Regions from separate parts of the Homo sapiens genome. Here all the other regions are linked to region 3. The links are contacts of gene promoters, found by promoter capture Hi-C in human tissues and cell types (Jung and others, 2019). All regions are on one chromosome and are shown on one strand. The core of a region is centred on a gene start or on the middle of the fragment in contact, and the rest is flanking DNA. Distances in the headings are between cores, read along the strand shown.

Region 1 (2,802 bases), core at 195-2,694, 300 kb after region 3:
ACATTGGGAGTTTTTTGCAGGCGTGTCCTGTCTCATGCTCCCCATCCTCCGCTAGCTCTCCTTGCTCATCTCTTCAGCTTTGTTCTCTTTGTCCCTGAACTCTCATCTCAAATCTTTTCATGCCTAAGATCGTGCTTGGCAGAGAGTCGATGCTCAGGAAATGAAACAGAAAAAAAAAATGCTTTTAGGGGCTGTTGCAAGAATCCTACCTAAGCAGGGCCGTGCCTTTCTTGAAAGAATTCTTGAGAGTCGCTTGGGTAACTGCCAAGGTTCCAACTCCTCAGGACTGAGGCAGGGGAAACATGGTGTCCTGTAGAGACAGGAGCCAGAGACATGAAAAAAGAGGGAGAGGCCGGGAGCATCTCACCGGCTCATAAAGGGCTAAGCGGAGGCGGCTGCCTCTTAACGCTTCATAAATTCTGTACACCTTGTGAAATGGTTTGTAAGGAGATTTCTTAGGACATCTATGAAGGGGTTAAACTTTGAGCCGAGTGATACACGGTAGACGTAGGATCTCACGTTTAAGATCATATATCAGGAAATGAGCAAAAAAAACTTGGTGTGGCTTTTAACATTGGGTTTCAAACTAGGCAAGGCAAGAGAATCACCTGGGGAGCATTTGAAAACCAGGCAGCACCCAGACTTATTAAATCAGACTGTCTGGGGTGGAACTCAGGCATGGGTATTTTCACAGCACTCTCCTATTGATTTCAACGTGCAGCCACATTAAGAACCATCAGCAAAGAGCATCCCAACCATGAGGTTATGTTCCACCAATCCTGTTTAATCTCAAGGGCTGGGAGGCCCCAACTGACATCTAGGTTTCATCTCAGAAATATCTATTTAACTTAAAGCTTGGCTGAAGGCAGGCTGCGGTGGCTCACGCCTGTAATCCCAGCACTTTGGGAGGCCGAAACGGGTGGATCACTTGAGGTCAGGAGTTCAAGACCAGCCTGGCCAACATGGTGAAACCCCATCTCTACTAAAAATACAAAAATTAGCCCATGGTGGTGGCACACACCTGTAATGCCAGCTACTGGAGAGGCTGAGGCATGAGAATCCCTTGAGCCTGGGAGGTGGAGGTTGCAGTGAGCCAAGATTGTGCCATTGCACTCCAGCCTGGGTGACAGTGAGATGTTGTCTCAAAAAAAAAAAAAAAAAAAAGCTGGGCACAGGCACAGTGGACCACATCTGTAGTCCTAGCAGTTTGGGAGGCTGAGGTAGGAGGATCGCTTGAATCCAGGAGTTTGATACCAGCCTGGGCAGCAGAACCAGACCCTATCTCAAAAAATAATAATACAAAAAAGATGTATGAACTTAACTAAATTATTTTAAACCTAGGGTGTTCTTACATTAAAAAGAAAAATGTTAAAAAGAAGTTGGTTTCATTTTCTGCAACTGTAATGAGAATAGTCAATATTGTAATATCTTCTTTCTAATAGACTCCATCCTCCTTTTGCCCAATTATTAACTATCTATTATGTGCCTAGCACTGGCCAAGATGCTTTATATGCATTATTTTTCTTAATTCCTAATAAAACACTTCAGTGCATTTTCCTCTATCCCAGTTTCCTTTGGGTTGAGAAAAGCAGCACCTTCGCAGAGTGACAGTGACCTGCACAATCTCAGTGAAGAATTTTATCAAAATTGGGAAGCTTGTTGGGTCTTGTCCCTCTCTGTAAGCAACTTGAATCCTAGGAGGACCAGGTTCCGGCACACATATCTGGACTCGTTTCGCCTCCATCTAAAGCTCTGCTTCTGTCTTCTGTCTGCCTCGCTCATGTACTGCAGGGTGAGACCCGCACAGCAACCAGGGTGCAGTGCTGAGGGCCCTGGAGGCTGAGTCTGGAGATGTGAGGAAGTCACTTCCCTGCCTGAAATCTCAGTCTCTTCCTTAGCAAACAGGGATGTTACTAACACCCCATGCCCTGGCCACTCTCAAGACTAATGAGAGAATCAACAATTCAAATTGCATTTGAGGACCTCCTGGTACGTTTGGTTCAAATCCAGCACCATCAATGAGCAGACCAGGCTGGCCTCAGCTGTTACCTCCCAGCCAGTTTGTCAGTTCCTGCTCACCCATCCATCATATTCCACAACATCAGATGCCAAGGACAACAAACACCTTAGCTTTTTCTTTTAAATCATATCTAGTTCATGACTTCTAGAAGCAGAAGGGAATTCCTTTTCAGCATTTGCGGCATGTCAAGAAAAGTCCCAGAGATCATCTTTGCAGCTGTGCAGTCACGTAAACCACCCTGTGCATCTGGCCCTGTTTCTGTCCCCTGTCAAGAGACAGACAAATGCGTAAGAACCGCAGACATGAAATACAACAGGTGTATCCTGGTTGTGTGAGTGTCACCAGTGTCATGGTTCCCGCTGTCCCTAAGCCAGGCTCTCCCTTAGAAGGAGTGGTGAAATCCACATTGGCAGCGGAGAAGCATGTGCTAACGTCCAATCTTCCATTGTAAAAAGAGAGCAGACTAGCATTTATCCACTTTTCTATCCCACATGGACTGACTCCAAATTAGTAACAGAAAGTTGAACAATTACCAACACCAAGCCAAAGAGGCAAGTTCCCCTGATGCTTCTAGACTTGAGGAAGCCCTAGTAATCTGGTCGCTACTTAACCAATAGTAGGGCTCTGGGTGAACTGGCCTGGTCAAAATGCTCCTTTTCCACCTCAGTTCCACCACGGCTAGCACAGTGTCCAGCGCATATTAGACAGTTAAGAAACATATTGTAAGAAAGAAGAGTGACACTGTTATTAAGATGGTGTTTAAAATGAAGAGGGGCAGGCAA
Region 2 (3,143 bases), core at 417-2,916, 300 kb before region 3:
TATTGCTCAAATTGTTCCAGCTTTGACCAATGGGAGCTCTTTCAGTTGGCTGTCATATTCCTTTAACATACCCCATAATTATGAACCTTTTTCTTTTATTGTGGCACTTCTTTGTTTTCTGGCATGACAGAATTCTCTATATTCATCATATATATTTTCTACCCCAGGCCTAAAATCAGCTATTTTTCTAAGGAGCTCTCTTTCGTTTTATCGGAAAATGGTATTAGAAAACAGAATCTGGGCACTAAATGTGCTTGTTGCTGCTGAGGTATTGTTGCTTCTAGGCACTCTCAGCTGACTAAGCAAGGAAATACGTTAAATATATATGTGTATATACACATTTCCATCAGTAGCTTGCTATGTAACCGTCTATATCTGTATTAAGTTAAACAAGAGTTCATATGGATGTCTCCAACTCTAACCCATCACACACATTCTAGTCTCCTCCCCTTGCCTCACTGCTGTGTAACCTCCCACTCCAATAGTGGGAAATCTGGCTCCTGCCACCTGCCAGCCATTTACTTAATTGTTCAGTTACAGTACATGTGTATAGTGATTTCAGAATCATTAACCTGTTCCACTATGGGAAACAACTTTTTGGCTGAGTAAAGTGCTTCCGTGCAGTTCCTCTTGCCTTTAGTCTTATAGACTCCACTTAGTTCAAAGTCACTTCGGTCAGCACCTTTTCCCCTCACCCCCTTCAGTGAGGTTGTTTCGTACACTTGTAAGATAATTAGACTCTTTTGTCATATTCTGCATTCTGTCTTGGGATTCTTTGACCTCCTAAATGATTTTTAAAAATTTGCATACATTAAGGTTCATTCTTGGTGCTATAAAGTTCTATGTGTTTTGACAGATGCAAATTGGAATTGACTGACTTTGTACAGCTTCAGAATCCTTGAGAAAGGAAAACAACCTCAGCATAGCCGACTCTGCTCTCTAGGCACACTTGGAAAGCCTGGAAGCCCCCATGAAGCATTTAAAGCAGTTCTGCCCCCATGGAAATAGAATACGAACCATATATGTAATTTTACATTTTCTAGTAGCCATAAAGTGAAAAGTAAAAAAGATACAGGTGAGATTAATTCCAATAATGTATTTGATTTAACCCAATATATCAAAACTATTATTTCGATATGTAATAAATATAAAGACTTATTAATAAGTCCTGTTACCTTTTTGGTACTAAGTTTTCAAGACCAGTATGTATTTTACACTTCCGGCATATGGCAGTTTGGAATAGCCACATTTCAAGACTTCATTAGACACATGGTGGCTAGTGGCTACCATACTGGATAGTTTAAGACTTAAAAATACCCTTCTATTCAGGAGTTTTCTTTCAGATTGTGCTAAAAATGAGGCCCATAATTTAATTTTAAGGAACCACAGCTAGCAGAATGAATGCATAGACTTGATCAGTCTCTTATGTCCAAGTTAGGTTAGTAGTAGCCTAAGAGTAGTACCCTAACATCTGAGATAAAGACATTTGGGTGGATGAGCCCAATAATATTTACCATAAGATTACCCTGAACTCCCCAGGCCAGCAGAAGGATATCCCTTGCCCATGCCAGATGAGAACAGTGTTCCTTAAAAAACCTTGAAACCCTGCAAAACTCTCACCCAATGCAAGTGTACTACACGATGATGCTTATTCTCAACCTTTAGATGACTGTGGCTCAGCATTTCCCATCATCTCATTGCAGGTTGCTGAGCCCCTACCTTGCAGGCAGCCCTCTCATTTGTAGAGATGAGAGCCTGAAGGTTCCCACATTCACCTTTTCTAGTTATTTTACCTGCTGAATGACCTAATTATCAGTTTTCAGGAAATTTATTAAATTTGGAAACTCTTCTTTCTTTGCTTCAATGGAAGATGGTTTGACTTGATCATTTTATTTTACACCTAGAAGGTTTAAAAGTGGCATTTACAAAGTGGCTATTTGTCATTAGAGACTGAAAGCTTCACCTGCCCATCAAGACCCCATGGCCACACAAAGGAAAGAGCAACCAATTCTCCTGACAGAGCCTGTTTGGTGTCATCTTTCCTGCTCTTAAGGTTTTCTGTGAATTTTTAAAAAATAGGTTCAACTGATTCATCCTTTTGAATTATATCCTTTTATATATTATATGTGTGTGTGCGTGTGTGTGTGTGTGTGTGTGTGTGTGTATTTCCCAACTATAATTCTGAAAAATGCCATTTTAGACCCTATGCTGCTGAAACACTGAGATAACCCTTATTCTGAGATTAGCCTGGCCACAAATGCCAACAATTATTTTGTGAAGCTGGAAAGAAAGCTTGGCTTGCATTGAGGCAGCCACCACAAGGGCGTTCTGGCTCTAGCCCTGTCCCTGGTGTGAGGCTGGGTTGAGTAAAATCTTTACAAAAACTTTTTGGATAAATTTCCTTTCTTTCCAGAGGCTCCTGGTAATAAACTTTTGGAAGTTAATCTGTCTAGCCCTGAAAATGACAGGAAATTCAACCACACCGATCACAATCAATGAATTCCTGATCATTATGAATCATTCATTAACACAAAATGGAAATGATCACACTGTGGGTCACAGCTTGGAGTCAGACAGCCCAATGTGGGATTGAGTTTTGGCTTCCTCCCTAAATTTATTGGCTATGAAACATGGTCCAATTATATACTGTCTCTAGGCATTAGGTTCCTTACCTCTAAAGAGGGCATAAAGATATTACCGAATGGGGGTTGTTGAGAAAGTGTGATGTTGTATTGAAAGAGCTGATGGTAGGTGGCATGTATTGTACATGGAACTGAGAAGACAGTAAGCCTTCTCTCTACCCTCAGCCTTCAATTTTTAGACCACCGTGGTCTCCTCACTCAGGCGAACATTGTTGCAACACTTTTGGTCTCTCAGCTGCTCAATTCCCTGCTGGTTCCTCGGAGCTTGGTATTTTCAAGTCACTTCTCCCAAGCGGGTCAGGTCACTATGCAACTGGTGAGTTCTTAGGCTGGGTGATGGTCTTCTTTGTGTTTCCAGGCGCCTCCTGAGGTTGGCCTATATTGGACCTGTGGAAAACTTGCTGTGTACATGAACTTGGAACCCACTCTGCAATCTGCTCATCTCTCTCTGTCTTTCTCTAGAGACAGGTGGTTGCAGTATGTTAACCCCAAGATGTATTT
Region 3 (2,708 bases), core at 170-2,669:
GAATGTTTGCTCTGATAGATTATAGTCTGATAGGGTTAGGGTGGAGCCCAAGAAGAGCCATAAGTAAATCCACTTAGGGGTGAGGAGGTAGGAACTGCTTTGGAAATTGAGCCACATGGAGGAGGATAAGGAGGTGGAGAGGTTGGGCATGCAATTTTCAATAGGGCTATCAATAGGCTTAAGAAGTCAGGGTTGCCAACATTTCCCATTCCCCAAGCCTGCTTCCCCTTCCCTTGGAGCTTGTGCAGGCACTGAGCCAGTTTAAACAACACACACCTGACGGTCAGTGCCCAGTAAGTACTTGTTGACCAAATGACCAAATGAAGGGGGACTTTGTTTCTGGGCCCAGTGAAGGTTCCCCCTTGATCCCCTGGATTACCCAGTCATGACTCCTGGAGACTTGGCTATTTTCAAAAACCAGGCACACCCCCAAGAGGTGAAGAGTCCCCATTATAGAGGCCACCAGAGTAGAGAGATGGTTCCAGAGACATGTGGAGCACTAACAACATGCTGGAGAAAAGACAACCACGCCTAAGGTGTCTGGTCTGAGAAGGAGACAGGAGTGTTTGGATGCATAAGGTGTGAATGGGTATCCATAAGTATAGATAAATATATTTACAGTCATTGGTGAGCTGACGGGGGAAGGGAGGGAGAAGAGCGAAAAAGGGTTAATGATAGGGAGAAGGCTGCGAGAGCCATCCTCTAGTGAGAAATACCGAAGGTAGGCTGCGGCATTGCCAGGGGTGCAGAACAGTGTGGCGCGCTGTCGGGAGACACAGTGCTAAGGGGGAGAAGGGGGGAGCCCCAGGTGCACGCCTGGCTGGGTGAGTGCGGCGGGCAGGAGCCCTCGCTTCTGGGCGGGTCTAAGGAGGAGAAGTGGCTCGAGTTCAGCTCCAAATTGGGACGGAGGCAGGCGATGCGCAGGAGTGGGGAGGCGCGCAGGAGTGGGGAGCCAAGCCGGCGGGGTTCCAGTCTAGCAGGCTGTTCTCACTTGGCCCCACTCCCTCCACCTTTTGTGTTCCAGCTCCATAATCTGCTCCCTGAGGAAAGGGGGCTCGTCCCTTGGGGAAGCACCTCCAACTCCCCCATCCCCATTTGGTGGCATTCTAAGCAAGCAACGGCTTCGGGAGAGCTGCCTCGAGAGCCTGAGAGAAGTCCCGCTTAGAAGCTGGGCTGGGCAGGTGCGGAGTTGGGGGCGGGAAGCCAGGATTGGGCAAGTGGAGCTGCCTGTGACCGGCGCCACAGGGCCCAGAGCAAGCCGCTTGCTGGTTCAACCAGGAAACCGAGGTGCAGAAGGTGGACGCAGCGGGCCCTGGCTCATAGGGTGCAGGGTCGGTGGCTTACCTGCAGGCGCTCCCCTCCAGAGGTGCCCTCGCGTGGGCTTGCTCTGTGCGCCTCGGGGACTTCCTCAAACGGACTCGGGAAAGACAAGACAGTTGGCTCTTAAATAACTTCCTAAGAGGAGCCCTCACCCTCCTCCCCTGTCCCACAGGGTTTTCTCCTCCCCCTTCTCCACAGCTGGAGCCAGTAGGGGAGCTCAGAGGATTTTCTATTTACTTCATCTGGCCTGTTATCCCGGCAGGTGCGCCCTTCTCTCCCACTTGCCCCTCTGACTCCCAATTTCCCATTCCCACTTCTCCTCCCCATCCCCATCCCTAGATCTGCCCTCCCCACCGCAACCAGTTGCTGGGAGTACCAGGCAAGGGGCCCTGCAGTGCCAGGAAGTCCCCACCCGTCCCCTTTGGTCAGAGGGTCTGGGAGGGTTTCCTTTACAAAGGAATGCTTTTGCCTGGCAGGTCAGCTGCTACTGTGGCTTGGCAGGAGGGGGGTCTGCCCTCCCACAGACAGGTCACACAGACAGTTGTGACCATGCATGCAGTGAGAGCAACGTGTCCCTCCTGTGCAAATAAGGCATGGTCTGCATTCCTGAATCATCCCAGAGCCACAGCCACCGCCTAACCACAAGACTTCCTGCAGGAATGGGATGCCTAGCCCCAAGGAAGATGAGTAAACATCTTTAATAATGCCATGCAGATTAGAAAATAACACTTGGTTTTCTCTGAAAATCATTTTAGTGCATGTTCAAAAATTAGAAAATTTTCCCCCTAAAATTTTAATTTTTTTCTTTTACTCTTTCTTTCTTTCTTTCTTTCATCTTTCTATCTTTCAGATGAAGTCTTGCTCTGTTGCAAAGGCTGGAGTGCAACCTCCACCTCCCGGGTTCAAGTGATTCTTCTGCCTCAGCCTCCCAAGTAGCTGGAACTACAGGTGCATGCCACCATGCCCGCCTAATTTTTGTATTTTTAGTAGAGATGGGGCTTTACCATGTTGGCCAGGCTGGTCTCGAACTTCTGACCTCAGGTGATCCACCCTCCTTGGCTTCCCAAAGTGTTGGGATTACAGGCGTGAGCCACCGCACCCAGTCAAACATGGCTATTTCTAACCTTCTTTACTGTCTTCAAATTTCTGACCCTGCCACTCAATCTCCCAATGTTATAAAGAAGAAAAAAAAAGATGCCATTGGTTAGAAATTCTCTCAATTTTCTGCTACCAATCTATGAACCTGCCTGCAACCTTATCTATCTTTTCCTCTTTCTTCTTGTTACTGAAGTTGGAAAGGTCCCTCCTCCCTCTGCATCTCCAAACCAGGCTTCTGCGTTGCCTTGTTCTCCGGGGCTTTGCTGTGACTCTTACGTACTCTTCCTCTT
Region 4 (2,932 bases), core at 201-2,700, 360 kb before region 3:
TTGTTTTTTTCTCCCCCTGGGGAATTCCTTCTAGAACCTTCTCACTTGTCAGTTCCTGGATAATCCTTCCTTGATGGCCCCCACCCCTAGTTCCATTAGGAAGATCTAGGTCCCTCCTTATCCTTTCTCCACCTTTCCACTCCATAGCTGTATCATAATATGTACCACAGGACGTTGCAGCTCGCCGACCCTGGGGGCCCCTCTGACTGACTGTCAGTTCCTTCAGCGCAGGCTGTGTGCCTTGGCGCTTATCACAATATCTAGCTCCTCCACCTGGAATGAAAAGGTGAGTGAATACAACTTACAGTCAGCTTGAGAAAGTGAAGCTAAGGCACAGGGAAGCCAGGAGCCAACCTGCCCTAGGTCGAGCAGGGCTCCCACGGTGAGATTCCCCAGACTGAGCTGTAAGAAATCTGCCCATGAACCACATGAGCTCAAGTCCTTCCAGTGCTGTTTTGTTCTTGAAGCAGTGCATTTTGGGGCAGAGTAGAGGAGCAGATGCATCTCTTCCAAACCCCAACAGGACGGGGGCAAGGGCTGGACACATCCCAGAAACGAGAGGCATGTCATGCTCATGCTGTTCCATGTGGTGGCTCCAGAGATGGTGTTGCTGTGTGGCTCATGGTGACATGGCCCTGCCTGTCACTCTGTGGCCCCAAATGGCATGTACCCAATGACAGACGTGTATGTCAAACCACGAAAGACAGCAGCCTGGGGGAGCTTGGGGCAGCTTCAGCAGATCTGAAATAAGATGTCAAAATCGGCCCCTAGAAGCTGGGTATGTTTTTGGCCTCACCATCCTGCTCCTCCAGGAGTCAATTCTCAGCCAGCTCTGTGCCACCACACTGGTGGGCCACTCTGCTAGGCCTGGCAGGTGTGAGAAGGGCCTCAGAGCCTTGTGAAGGATCAGGACTTAAGACACCACATCCTTCAGTACCCTGCCGTCTTATCTGGATCCTCTGGGGGCTGACCTTAAGGGCGAGATGGTGGAAGAGGAACTGTCTACTTTGCAGTTACTCTACCCAAAGCTCCCTACACCTAGGAACCCCCTACACCTACACCTACACTCTGTGGCATCTTCCCTTCATAAGAGTAATTACCAGCACATTGCAGTGGCTGAAATTAACTGAGAACATACGTATCAGGATCTGTGCTAGGCTATTTATAGGATTATCTCATTTAATTATCACTATAATCTTATAGAGTAGGTGCTGTTTTTTTTTTTTTTTTTTGACGGAGTTTTACTCGTTGCCCAGGCTGGAGTGCAGTGGCATGATCTCGCTCTGGGATTACAGGCGTGAGCCACCGTGCCCTGCCGAGTAGGTGCTATTATTGCTTCTATTTTGAAGATGAGATGATCCAGTCTAAATTAGTCCAGTCCCTTGCCCATGTTTCCTCAACTAATGAGTGTTGAGGCAGGGACTCAGACACAAGCTTTAATGTGCTTTTAGCCACACGATACTGCATCATGCAAGACCTGGAGAGACCATGGGAGCAAGGACAAGCGGGATCAAATGGAGCCAAGCGACGCAAGGGTACCTGTGGGAGCCCCATCACAGGGGCCTCGTGTTCCTCCCTTGACCCGGACAATAAGAAACCAAAAGAAACTGGCTGGGACATTTCTCACTTCACTCCCTCAGACTGAGTGTAGGATCAGGCTCACATAAACAGAGTTCTCTTGGCTACTAAGAGGCACTATCTGAACTCAAAGAAGGAGTGTGTAACCATAACAACAATGATACAACCCGATCTCTTCCCCCATAGAAAGAAGAGAGCTTTATGTTAAAGAACTATTTATCTGAAATAACTATTGAACAGGATAGCTTACCATTGACATTCAACTTGGGCAGCAAAAAGCAAGTGGAAAAATTTGGTCGCTGAAATATTTTCCATGACCACCTGCCGTCTGGGTGTAGTATGCAAAGGGGACACCATGGGTCAGACAGTTCAGGCCCCCCACTGAGGAGCCATCAGGGCTGGGGTCAGTAGGTTTGCCATCTGTCAGCATCACTCCATTCTCTAAAACCCTTGGGAGGGTTGCCTTGTCACATCTGTTGAAAGCTATAGTCTCCTTCCTCTTGCACTGCCTCACTTACAATGTTAGTAAGCAAGCAATTTAAGAAGTGAATTATACTAATTTTGCTTATCCTTGAAGTGTGAAATTTTAGAAGATGGTGCCAAATGAATGATCATGTATATTTCTCAGTTCGTTCATGGCTTTTTTTAAAGTTTGTTCATTCTTAAAGACACTTCTATGCTGTGTAAATTTAACTAGAGATGAAAAATGGAAGTTGAAAACAATTGTAAAATTATCTAAAAGTACAGGTTTCAGATGCTGATAACCAGAAAAGTAATTTCTATGGACTTGAAACTATAGATCTTTTTGTCCACATACATTCTAGGCCTATCATTCATTACCTAAATAATATAAAAACCAGCTAGAATATCAGCTGCAACAAATTATCACAAATTTTACTTATGAAACAAGACTAAACAAAGTTGTCATTGAAGGCAGGGTGGGATCTCATTTCATTTGTGAATTTGAGACTAAAGCTAGTGCATGGATTGTAAAAACTGAATGTGGTCAAAGTGATCCCCGAAAATTATTTAATTACACCATAAAGAACAGTGTCTATGATATGACATACGCAACATGTATCAGGCAGCTATTGCTATGACTTTGCTGCATAACGAGTAACCGCCAACTCTCTGTAGAAAACAATTAAGCATAATATCACCCATGTGCCTGTGGGCCTCTGAGTCAGTTGCAGCATCTCTGTTCCTTGTGTTTCATTCCAGGGCCTGGGCTGGAGAGACATTGGCTATCCAGGGTGTATTCTTCCCATGGTCATGGCAGATGCACAAAAGTATGAGCCCAGTTCTGTTAGTGTGCTTTTAGCCTCTTCTTGCATCAACATCTGCTAACAGCCCA

What was found. Contacts are between HindIII fragments. The study calls those that stand out against the background at their distance.
Region 1: a contact is called between a fragment that was not itself captured here and the fragment with the promoter of F13A1 in region 3, in 1 of the 25 tissues and cell types used here (dorsolateral prefrontal cortex).
Region 2: a fragment that was not itself captured here is called in contact with the fragment with the promoter of F13A1 in region 3 in 2 of the 25 tissues and cell types used here (dorsolateral prefrontal cortex and spleen).
Region 4: a contact is called between a fragment that was not itself captured here and the fragment with the promoter of F13A1 in region 3, in 1 of the 25 tissues and cell types used here (fat).

The regions. Positions count from the first base shown.
Region 1 is chr6:6,614,576-6,617,377 of GRCh38, forward strand. The region is part of intron 1 of LY86 (lymphocyte antigen 86); the gene reads left to right. All of the region lies in intron 1 of LY86-AS1 (LY86 antisense RNA 1), which reads right to left. Among named protein-coding and RNA genes, the nearest start is that of LY86-AS1, 6.8 kb to the right of the region's middle. The HindIII fragment of the contact is 4,694 bases long and covers 1-2,802 here.
Region 2 is chr6:6,018,192-6,021,334 of GRCh38, forward strand. No RefSeq gene overlaps it. Among named protein-coding and RNA genes, the nearest start is that of NRN1, 13 kb to the left of the region's middle. The HindIII fragment of the contact is 3,261 bases long and covers 37-3,143 here.
Region 3 is chr6:6,319,243-6,321,950 of GRCh38, forward strand. It overlaps F13A1 (coagulation factor XIII A chain), which reads right to left and starts at 1,420. Exons shown (of 15, transcript NM_000129.4): 1 at 1,345-1,420. All of the region lies in intron 1 of LOC124901253 (a long non-coding RNA gene), which reads left to right. The HindIII fragment of the contact is 8,313 bases long and covers 1-2,708 here.
Region 4 is chr6:5,960,049-5,962,980 of GRCh38, forward strand. No RefSeq gene overlaps it. Among named protein-coding and RNA genes, the nearest start is that of NRN1, 45 kb to the right of the region's middle. The HindIII fragment of the contact is 6,226 bases long and covers 1-2,932 here.